Regions from separate parts of the Homo sapiens genome. Here all the other regions are linked to region 2. The links are contacts of gene promoters, found by promoter capture Hi-C in blood cells and fetal thymus (Javierre and others, 2016). All regions are on one chromosome and are shown on one strand. Each heading gives the region's core, a stretch centred on a gene start or on the middle of the fragment in contact. The rest is flanking DNA. Distances are from core to core; before and after follow the strand shown.

Region 1 (3,808 bases), core at 774-3,273, 510 kb before region 2:
AACTTACTTCTTACAAATATATCTTACTTGCTGTTTAAGCAAACCTTCTCAATCTTTTCGTCATAGTTTTAAAACTATGAAATTTTGTTGTTTATAGATATGGACTTAGCCAATGGACTTAGATATATGTGTGCTCAGCAGAAAATGACAAAATCGCCCAGTTAAGAAAAATGCTTTACTTTTTTTCCCTTGATGGTAGCTGAGTTACTTATATTGTATTACTAAAAACATGTATATTTGCATGGATAAGCAGTTCCTCTCTCTAAACAATACTTGGCACTCAATAGACATGGGGTAAGCTCAAAGCAGGCATTTTAAAATAAGACCATATGAACAAATGTTATATGTCTATAACTTTCATAATGGAACACTGATGAATGACAGAAATAAACCACACATAATATAACTGATTTGAAAAGAACATTATTTACTAGACTTTTTCTGATATTCATTAACTCTCTTCATGCTCAATGAACAGAAAGTAATTATGTCACTGCTGTGGCATTTTATCAAAAATACGATTGTCTTTCTCTTAGTGTTGAATTTCTCTAAGTAATAGCAGGAATCATGCCACTCCTTTGTTCAAAAGTTTCAAAGATTCTTTTTTTCTATAGAATATAATCAATAACCTGTAGATAAGCCCTGATTACTGTCTGCGTCACTACTCCTATACACTACAAAGTCAAGCCAAAGTAAACCACTCTTTAATATGAAAATACTAGCTGGTTCCAGTTGTTTCTATTTTGATGGATTCCAGCTGGATTTCACTTATTTGTTGGCATATGAATGTCTTACACACACTCAGCAATCATTCCAAGAGCCATCTTGCCCATGAATCCCTTCATAGAAGTCTTGTAGAAGGAATATATTGACAATTTATAATATTGATTTGGATCAAATATGCCTCCAGGCTCTTTAATTACTAGAGCTATATATAGAATCACAGACCTGTGGCTGGAAGAAAGGTAATTTCAGAGGCAATATACTCTAAACTGAATTTTTAAATATAGAAAACCGTGGCATCCCACCCTAATTCCAATATCCTGGGCACACAGTCTATTTAAGATAAAGAGATTTAGTGATAAAATTAGGTAAAGATCTCCTTAAAGTTTCCAAAATAGAAGCCTTTGGCTTGAATTATATATGGTGGATTATATAGGTTGACCATATTAATAGCATATTTAAAAAAAAAACACACACACACATCATGAAATTTTTTGCCTCTGTAGTGAAATAATTCCTCAGGTCTTCCTTCATATGAGTTCACACTTGACATTAAGTATTCAGGTTCAAGTGGATCCCATACTACTATTTTAAAACTTTATCCATAATAAGCCTTTGAGTAAATGCATTATAAAGGAAGTAGCGCTTGAACACGGGCAGGCAGTCATATATGCACAATCTTCTTAGAGTGGAGGTGGATTCAATCTAAGAGTGACATCAGTTATCATTAGTGACACTTTTTCTTGAAATCTACTTCTATGTGAACTCCACACAGTGAACTCTCTTTTGTTTTATACAAGAGGAACTCTAGTAAAAGGTGGTACTATTTTTACCTTATATATGGCTGCACCAATTAGAAAAATTCAGTAAAGCTGTGCAAATCTCATTGGTTGCTAAATTTACATTTTTATCAATTCATCTATTCTGAGTACTTTGTTATTTTTTCCAGATCGGTCTGTGTAATCACCACCATCACAACAAAACACACAGTTTTATTTAAACAGAACAATATATATGGTGTAATGAAAAAAGTTATCCACATGAGAATCTGACAGCAAATACAAAGTGTTCAAATTAATTAGCTGCAGGAGTTTTGATCAATTATCTAACTTAACTGAATCCCAATGTTTGCAAAATGAATTAAACTATTAATTATGTTCAGAAATTAATAGAGAAAGTCATGTAGAGGACTTGTACAGGCAAATTTTCTATCCCTATGTATATCTACCTCTTCTGGAGCAACTCATTTGTCTCTAGGTTTTAAGCACTTACAGGTTTTCCCTAATTAAGATTTTTGTAATGAGTGGATCTTAGGGAGAAAAAATAATTGTTTCAAAAGTGGATCAGCTGCTATGAATTGGGAATGTATCTTATTTGAATAATGATTAATAAAAAAACATTTCATGATGTCAACACACTTGTTTTTCTTGCTTTTTAGGAGCCTAAGTTGCCAAAGGATTACCTTACACAAAAATCTGTTCTTCTCATTTGTTTGTAACTCTGTTGTAACAATCATTCACCTCACTGCAGTGGCCAACAACCAGGCCTTAGTAGCCACAAATCCTGTAAGTAAACCAAGATTGTGCCCTTGGTTCAAGGGCCTAATGGGAAAGGGGGAACATGGCTGATATATGCATAATGTGTATAATTAAGTACACATATATGTATATTTTCAAGTCTGACATATATATATATTTTCAAGTCTTTATATCTTGGGGAATATTGAGAAATATTTACCTTTCTACATTGGAATATAGCTACATATACTCTACAGAGTATTCCCTCAGAGTATTCTCAGTATTCCCCAAGATACAGAGTGAACATAAAAAAGTGTAATAATTTCTTTGCTTCAATTATTTATACATGTACACATATCTTCACTTCATTTTATAGCTGTAGAGTCCTCTTGCTATGGCACATAATAGTTTATCACTACATAATATTTATTCAATCCAAATGAAAAACTCAAAGCAATGAACTCTGCGTAATTCGAAAAATAGTACACGCACATGGAAAATTTAAATAAATTATATTTTTTGTATCAGGCTGACTTTAAAAAGTCAATAAAACCAGGAAAAGAATGAATTGTACATATCCTACATAAGATTAAACTTCATAGCATAATGTTTTAAAAACTACAGTGTTCAGTCTCAATAAATATTTATAAATTGTTGCCTTACAGGCCATATTTTTCAAACAGTTTAAAATTTACTTATCTAAATGTAAATATTTTGTGTAAGCTATATGCATATGTAAAATGTTTAAATTAAAATATCTGCATACATAAACATACATTCAAATTTTAAAAATTATCTGCTTTTATAATGTTTATGGGATATTTACTATATTTTGTGTGTGTGTGTGTCTATATAAAGTGTTTTTTAAAAGAAAAAATTATCTAGTGACTGAAATCAGGAAGGGAAAGAATTTTTACCAAGTGGGTCAATAAACAGTCTCATGTGTGTTTTATGTGTGTTTTTAGAGTAATTTTCAAAATTCTAAAAGTCCCTGCATTGTTTGCACCTGTGCATCCAGATTGCTTAATCTTGTATATGTTCCACTCTAAAGTCATTGGATTAGAAAACACACTGGGGTATAATTAGCAACATAAAAATCTGGCTAATGTCCTGCCATTTTAGAGTGAATTTCTGTAAGACAAGGAGATTCAGAGTTTTGTCTTGAAGCTGCAGAGCATGAGATTCTAAATCTCATATTTGTACGCAAAGATGTGTTTAATAAACACATTATAAATTGTCATATATTTTTGTTTTGTCTCTGTTACTAATGCCCTGCATAGAAATATTTTTCTGCAGTATGCTCTTAATTCTTTTTTATTGTAATGGTTTATCGATTAACTTTTTTAATGAAATCAAGAATTAGAAGCCGAATTAAATATAAATACTTAAAAACTCTTTAGATAAAAAGTTGAAGCTGAAATTTATGATTTCTCTCCATATAGTAGACTATCTCATTTTCACCTTTGAGTGAACTTTAATATAATGCTGTGTTTTACATACAGGTACATTATTTAAAATTTAATGTTACGTATTCTGCAGATACATTTAATGAATAAATAGGTTTTACA
Region 2 (3,690 bases), core at 610-3,109:
AAATATCTTACAAATAGAATGAAGTTCTGTCTAGCAATCTGTGCTTTCACTTTTTAACTTCTATGAAAGCATAAACACCATTATTTTTACCATCCCCCAAAATGGAATTTATGAACCTATATTCCATTGATATAATGACTATTGTGTCTTAAACATGCGACCCTTTGAAAATGTTTATCACTTATACATGGAGCAAGTAAACAAGTATCACTAGCTATAACTAAAACACAACAGCTTTAACAATTTTTGCTGTTTGCTTTTAAAAATTTTATAACTTTATTTTATATGTACACACATGTATATAAAGAGAGAGAGAAAAAAAATTGATGGTTGAATAAAATGTCCTCACTCTGAAGCCCAACTCATCATATTATATAGCAAATATGGAGTCATTAATTTATTGAGTTTTTAAAATTATACATATCAATATGTAAAATAATTTAATCCAATTTATAATTTCTTTTGCTCTTGATATGTGAGTTTTTTTCTAATGTTATAATGTATTTCTTTAACATCTAGTACCATTAAATTGATTCTAAAGTTGGGAGTATGGTAGTATGAATGTGAGTTGTTATTAGTCAGAATAGGAGAATAAAAATAAAATTTAGTAAATTAAAACCTTAGACCTTAGACCTAAGACTTTAAGGGTTGGATGATGTTTATCCAGGTGTCTCACCTGTGAAAGCTGCCATTACCATCATCTTCTTTCATCTTTTGCCCTTGCCATTTTCTGAGAACTCTCCTGCTGTTGACATAATCTAGTTATGATTTCTGCCCATGATAAAATAGGACAAATATGCTCTATCTTTGGCCACCAAGGCAAAGGTTACTGGACCTCCAAGTAGTGCTATCTCCTGCTTTTAATTTCCTATAGAGATTCTAGTAATGTGGCTTCTTTTTTCAGTAATTATGACTCAAAATGTTGACCCATACTTTATTACAGTTTTCCCCCTAAAATGTGGTAAACAAACCTCAGAGACAATTTAAATTATTGGAGGTACAAACATTGCATACCTTGAAACTCTTATTCCTTAGTATACAGATTTGTAAGTTTCATGTACCCATAGTCAATGGATTCTGTGCCACCATTCAGGACGTACCACCATCCACCATTCTGGCTGTACCATCCCCAACACCCACCCCTACCCAAACATGCAATTAAAAAATGTTCCCTCACTTGGAAGACCATTTCCCCTCCAACACACACACACACACACACACACACAGAGAGAGAGAGAGAGAGAGAGAGAGAGAGAGAGAGAGGCAGAGAGAAATGACTTAAGGATCTGGTTTCCTCCCAAGTAGCTGGGACTACAGCCGGCGCCACTACCGGTGATGCACTTCCTAGGGTTTAGAACTCCTGTCTTCTACATCTTTCCCCCAGAGACTCAGTCAATCTATGCATATAGTGAGCAATCAGAAAATGTTCGTGGAATATTGTGGAACGTCAAAAATCACTCTGGGCTCTGTAACCTCGGCTTTCTGTTAAAGATGATGAATCATCACAGGATAATTTCAGCATCCAGAGCCCAGACTGCAATCGGGTTTGCAACTGTCCTAACAAGTAGATTTCACCATCTCTGCCCCGAGGAAGCAGAAGGAACGCAAGAAAATTGACAGCTATGCCTTCGGCCTCCAGCTTCCAAGTCGGCCAGATGATTATTAAAAACACTCCTCAGTCAAGGGCGTCGCTTCGAAACGCAGTGGAGGCTGGGGAGAGTTGCAGAATCCATGCCATCCCGCACCTTTGTCGCCCGCTCTTCTTCGGCGCAGGGCACACCGGGACACCCCGAGCCCAACCACCGTCACCAAGGCAACCAGCCTGCACGCCGTCGTCTTGGAGACCGGCTGGCGCCTCAGTGAGCCGAGCAGAGGGGCCGCCTCCGCCCGCACCCAGCATGCTTCGCCGAGGCTATAAGGCCTCTGAAAGGCGAAGACACTTGAGCGAGAGGCTCAGCTGGCACCAAGACCAGGCGCTGAGTAGCAGCATCTACCTCCTACGAGAGATGGGCCCCACTGGCTTCCTGCTGAGGGAGGAGGAGCCGGAATACATGGATTTCCGAGTAACTACCGCCCCTACCGCCCCCAGTTGGCCATCATCCCCGCCCACCAGGTTCCCCCACTGGCATACCCAATGTGCGTAGCCACCATCACAATCTCTGCGGATACTTGCTGCCTCACCCCCGAAAGCGCCTTCCCACGAGTGTTCCAGACTCTAAAATACGTGAAATTACAGAAGGAAATAGTATTTATTAGAAGTTTCTTTTTTGGAGGTTAAGACCAAACTGCAACTCTTGTAAAAGATGATGGCTCTTGATCTTTAGGCTTGAAAATGTCAGAGGCGTATGAATACCTGGTTGGCATTACATGTGTTCTTGGATCTGTTGTTAGTGGTCCTTAGTCCTGTAAATCAAACGAAATGAAAATTCTACAATCTGCTAGCATACTGTAAATATTTTCTAAATAAATAAATAGGTTTCCCTTTACTCTTTGCTCACTCTGAAACTGTATGAAGGCCCTATTAAAGGATGGTTTAAATGGCAATACCTTGGAAAGATATTAATGAATAAAAATTCAAGTTTACTGAAAGACCACAGATATTTCATAATTGCATATCCCATCCTTAACCACTCAAAAATTAGCCACTGCACTACCTCCTAGGAGTTGACTTACAAAATTTTACGTTAGTGCCGTGAAGTTTAAGAATTGAATGCAATTTACTAGTCTGTGCTTATTTAAAGCATCTTTTTTTACTTTGTTGCTTCAATACTTACTGTATTTAATAGTTTTAGCCAAACTAGTCTTGGTGAATAAATTTTGTCCTCTTGAATAAAATTAAATAAATTCACCGACTCAAATGCACCAAACAAAAATCCAAAATGAGCTACCTTACAAAAGGTGCTTAGCTCCACCCCAAAGTAGAATTTCCTTACTGTGAGGAATTTATGGGTTGATATTTGCTTTTTTTCTTCTCTGACTTTGGGAATTAGATTTATTTTCACCTGCCTAAGGGCAGGTCACTTTAAAACCATCCTAATTTGTTAATTTGCTAACAAAGATAAATAATGAAGCCTAGAGACTAGTATCAAGAATTAAGATTCTCCAGTAGAATCTATTCAACCTTTTTGAATCACCTAAACTAAATTACCTCTTCAAATCTCTTTTATTAACTCAGTTTTGCTCTAACTCTCAAATTTTACTGGTCTTTTTAAGTATGCATTTTTCCTTTAAAGGTTTTTCTAGGAAATCCTCACGTTTGTAACTGTTCCACATTTCCGAAAGGAGGGGAACTTTGTAAGCATATCTGCTGGTAAGTGACTTTTCAAATGAAGATCTTCCATGAAGGAACATCTTGGTGTGTTAAATATTTTGCCTTTGTCATGGTTTCAATAACAACAAAATTAAAGAAATTTGGTGTTTGGGGAATATAAAGTTAAAATGGTCATAGCTTACCAATAAATTTTTCAGTATTTCATTTTATTCTGAAAATTGAATAACATTTAAATTGAGAACCATTTTATAATGTTAATGCTTTTAAATAGAAAAAATCAATTTTAGATTCTCATGTACAAATGTGAAATCTAACTATAAAACGGGGGAAAAATCCTGATCCCATCACTGCTGATAATTATATGGTTCATTTGAGATATTGCTGTGCTTCCACAAATTGTGTTTCCAAAATCACGTTTT
Region 3 (3,986 bases), core at 629-3,128, 550 kb before region 2:
CATACACAAAGTCTTCCTGAGCCACAGGAAAAACAACAACAACAACAACAACAACAACAACAAACAGTGTCAGGAGAGATTTGGTTTTAAGGCTATTTTGGCTTTAGGTTACTAGGAGTAAAAACTGTTTCTGTATAACAATCATTTTTTTCTTTTCATATAAATTTTGAACTCTTACCCAAGGCTTAATCCTTTTACCCTAATGCTTTGTTTGATGAGTAGGAAACACCTGGGAAGGCATGGAATTTGCCCAGGTTCAATGAATGACAGAGATGGGACTGAGGAAGACACTAACTTCCTGTTTTAAATGTTGATAAAATCATCCCTCGCTAGAACCTCATGAATGAGTTCCATGGAGAGTGTTTGAAATCAATGAAGTAAGCCTCAAAAGCAGTAGAATACTGTTCTTCAACTTGATAAATACTTTTATTGAGGGCAGAAATCTTAACATATCTCACCACCTTCACCCTACCAAACTAGGTAAAAGTAGATGCTCAATAAATAGGGTAAGGTAACAAATTTAATTTCTAGAAGAAGTTTTCTTCATTTAAAACGCATTTTTTAAAGTGCTAGAAAACGAGACAGTACATGTGTTTTTATTTTGGGACCTTGCCAGAATGGCAAGTATGAGTTGTCAAGCCATTTATTAATGTAAGCTTTGTAAAAGAATCGAATATGACATTGCTAAGAAGAGGAATGAAAAGAAGAAATTGTTGGGAAAAAGTATAAATGTGTTTGATGAGTACAAGTGACATGTAATGAGAAAACTGGTGGTTAAGCAAAATAACTGAATAAGCAAAATAGAAATGTGTCCTTCACTTTATGCAAATAAACAACTCCATTGTCCGAGTCAGTATGATACAGGGCAAAGGGTAGAAATTTAAGGTCAGAAAACCTGAGTTCTGAGCTTGGAGTCAGACCTAAGCATCTTTGTGACTTTGGCCAAGTCACAATTTGCATGCTGGATTTGCCTGGTTTGTTCAGTCAACATGATTACTGCCATGACTAACAGAATTATAGAGGGATACAGAAAATAGCAATAGCTAATGCTTATTGTGTATTTATTATTAAGCAAGTTTTTTATATCTAGCATGTAATTTAACACTTAAAATAATCCGACAAGGTGAGCTATGATAAAAGTTATAGGCAACATTGATTTAGCCAGGCATTGATTAGCATTATCTCATTTACTGGTCACATTAACCTTCTAAAAACAGCCACTACTTTTATGCAAATTTTCAGGTTAGAAAATCGGTTGAGAGAGTTTAAGTGTATAAGAACTGGCATTAAAGATATGTTTCTTTGACTTTAGTGTGTGTCTTCTAATAAGTATGCAACAGAAAACAGGAAGCTCAATTAACGATCAAGTTTTATACTCATTATCTAGTTGAGTAAACCAAGCAGAAAATAGTTGAGTTGATTTTCTTAAAATTACACAGCAATTTAGAAGCAGCTTAGAAGAAACACTTCTAGCTAATGGGATTGTCTTGCAGGAGGATGAATGTATTGTTAAGGTTAAGAGGAATGACTGGCTAGTTGGGAAGCAGAGTTACTACTTTGGTTTGATGGAAAAAAATGTAATTTTTGTCAGGTAAGGATTTTTATTAGTTTTCTATCCTAGCTGTACCAAATGACCATAAATTTAGTAACTTAAAACAACATTTATTTACTATCTATCTCACAGTTCTATTGGTCAGTTCTGTTGCCTTGGCTTGTTTCTTTGTTTCAAGTGTTACATGGTCAAAATAAAAGTAATGGCAGGGCTGCATTCCCTTTTGTAGACTCTGGGGGAGAACCTGCCTCCATACTCATTCAGGTTGTTGGCAGAATTCAATTCCTTGTGGTTGTAGGACTGAAGTCCCCATTTCCTTGCTGGCTTGAGGCCACTTTCTAGTCCTTGCATGTGGGCTCCACAGCAGAGTCAGCAACAAGGAATCAACTCTTTCTCAGGCTTTCATCTTTTCTGCTTCCCCTTGTGCTGCATCTCTTTGACCCTTCACCCTTTCTTTTCTTCTTTTAAGAGCTCAATTTATTATTTGCAACTAACCTGGATAACTCAAGATAACCTAGGTCAATCATTCTATTTTAAGATCCATAACCTAAATCATAGCTGTAATCAAAGATTCTGGTGAATAGGGCATGGAAAGTTTTGTATGCCTATCATTCTGCCTACCACATGAATCTTCTATCTATTCCAGGTATCCTCAACCCTAGCTATATATTAAAATCACCTGGGAAACTTGAAAAAATGCTTGTTCCTGGTCCCCAAGCAAGATGACCTGAATCAGAAATTTTTGGAGTAGAATCGAGGCAATGATCTTTTTTTATGACTCAGAAAATTATAATAGGCTTGAAAGGGTTAGGAATAACTAAAAACATCAGGTTTCTTCAACTTGATTAAATTTATTTCATAAGCAATCTACTTTAAAAACACTTTCTGTATACCCTCTTTATGTGATCACTTTGTTAGGGTGTGTAGCCCCGGAGATGAATATGCTGCCTGCCCTATTCTTACTGTGCTCACAATCTCATGGCAGAGACACATAAAGAAATAATTATAAGATTACATGGTATGTTTTAAAATAGATATTTGAATAACTTGCTTTGGGAGTTCTGTGACATTAATAATGCCTGGGAACACTGCAGAATATTTTGCTTGATTTATACTTTATAGTTGCTTTTAAAATAGTCTGGCTAGTAACTAGAAACAGTGAAATACAAATGTGTTCAGGTTTCGGCATGTCCCAGTGAGGATGAAGTATTTATATTGTGCTTCCCCAAGTATAACAGGCCAAGAATTTACTTGGGTGCTTACTAAACATGCAGGTTCCTAAATTCTTCTCCAAAAGGTTCTGTTCCAGAGCGTCCTTTGTGGGGCCTGGCCATTTTAACATTTTCACCAAGTTTTGGGGGTGATTCTGATGCAGGTGGCCCACAACCTCACACTTTGAGGACATGGTGTTTACTACATCAGTGATTTGGCACCTGCTCACTCAATAGCTTAAAAAATAATGCATGACTCAAATGACATCCTAAAGAGGACATACAGCTTGAGTTATAATCTTATATCCGTAACATGTCTTCAGGAAAGTAAAGCTTCTTTATGTTTTGTTTCACTAACTGCTTTATATATTAAAAGTGTGAGTGACATTCCAAGCTAGGTTGAAGTGGGCACTAAAACCTTACACTGGAATTTCTTTTTCATACTTTATTGGAGGCCAGGTGCAGGAGCTCAAGCCTGTAATCCCAACAATTCGGGGAACCAAAGTGAGAGGATTACTTGAGACTAGGAGTTCAAGGCACCAGTGAGCTATGATTGTACCACTGCACTTCAGCTGGGGCAGAGTGACATCCTGTCTCTAAAAAAATAATAATAAATAATAAAAAGACTCTATTGGAAGTAAAGATATTAACTTGCAACAACAATTCTAGCACAAAGACTTAGGTTTTCCAAAAATAAGCAGTGAGAAAAATAAGTTAACCAGGCTCTTGAACTTTGACATTTTTTAGATTGTGTAGAATGATTGAAATAAGTTTCCATTTGCCATGCAGGTGTGGAACTCTGCGATTGGAGTAGAGTGTTTATTCCTTGTTTTGATTCAAGAGATATGTAGCTTGTTTAATATGCCATAAGTAAGGGAAAGCATGTAATATAATATATAGGACATAGCTCAACTTTGCTCACACAAAGGTTCAGGTGGGTGAACCTTATGGCAAATTAAGTATGTGTAGAAAGTACTTCTGTTAGCCAACTTTTAGTGAATGGATACATAAATGAAAAACAGAGTATGGTTTAGAGCCTGTAAAAATCGAAGTTATTTCAAAAGTACAGAAACAAAAGATTAGGTTATTATTTTTCTTAATGTTGGAGTGAACATACACTTTCAATATTAGGGCTAGGTGACTCAATGAAAAATAAGAATTATTATAAAGAAACATAAATTAATGGAAAGTATGTATAGGAATAATACACATTTTAGAAAATA

Evidence for each region. Contacts are between HindIII fragments. The CHiCAGO score rates a contact against its expected background, and 5 or more counts as called.
Region 1: a fragment that was not itself captured here is called in contact with the fragment with the promoter of ZSWIM2 in region 2 in 1 of 17 cell types (monocytes); the score reaches 5.7 in monocytes.
Region 3: a contact is called between a fragment that was not itself captured here and the fragment with the promoter of ZSWIM2 in region 2, in 5 of 17 cell types (monocytes, M2 macrophages, M0 macrophages and 2 more). The highest score is 5.5, in monocytes.

Annotation. Positions count from the first base shown.
Region 1 is chr2:187,361,856-187,365,663 of GRCh38, reverse strand. It overlaps CALCRL (calcitonin receptor like receptor), which reads left to right. Exons shown (of 15, transcript NM_005795.6): 9 at 2,162-2,288. The region is part of intron 2 of CALCRL-AS1 (CALCRL and TFPI antisense RNA 1); the gene reads right to left. Among named protein-coding and RNA genes, the nearest start is that of CALCRL, 84 kb to the left of the region's middle. The HindIII fragment of the contact is 4,390 bases long and covers 1-3,808 here.
Region 2 is chr2:186,847,339-186,851,028 of GRCh38, reverse strand. It overlaps ZSWIM2 (zinc finger SWIM-type containing 2), which reads left to right and starts at 1,859. Exons shown (of 9, transcript NM_182521.3): 1 at 1,859-2,063; 2 at 3,234-3,310. The coding sequence starts at 1,899. The HindIII fragment of the contact is 8,021 bases long and covers 1-3,690 here.
Region 3 is chr2:187,392,099-187,396,084 of GRCh38, reverse strand. All of the region lies in intron 1 of CALCRL (calcitonin receptor like receptor), which reads left to right. The region is part of intron 2 of CALCRL-AS1 (CALCRL and TFPI antisense RNA 1); the gene reads right to left. Among named protein-coding and RNA genes, the nearest start is that of CALCRL, 54 kb to the left of the region's middle. The HindIII fragment of the contact is 2,440 bases long and covers 659-3,098 here.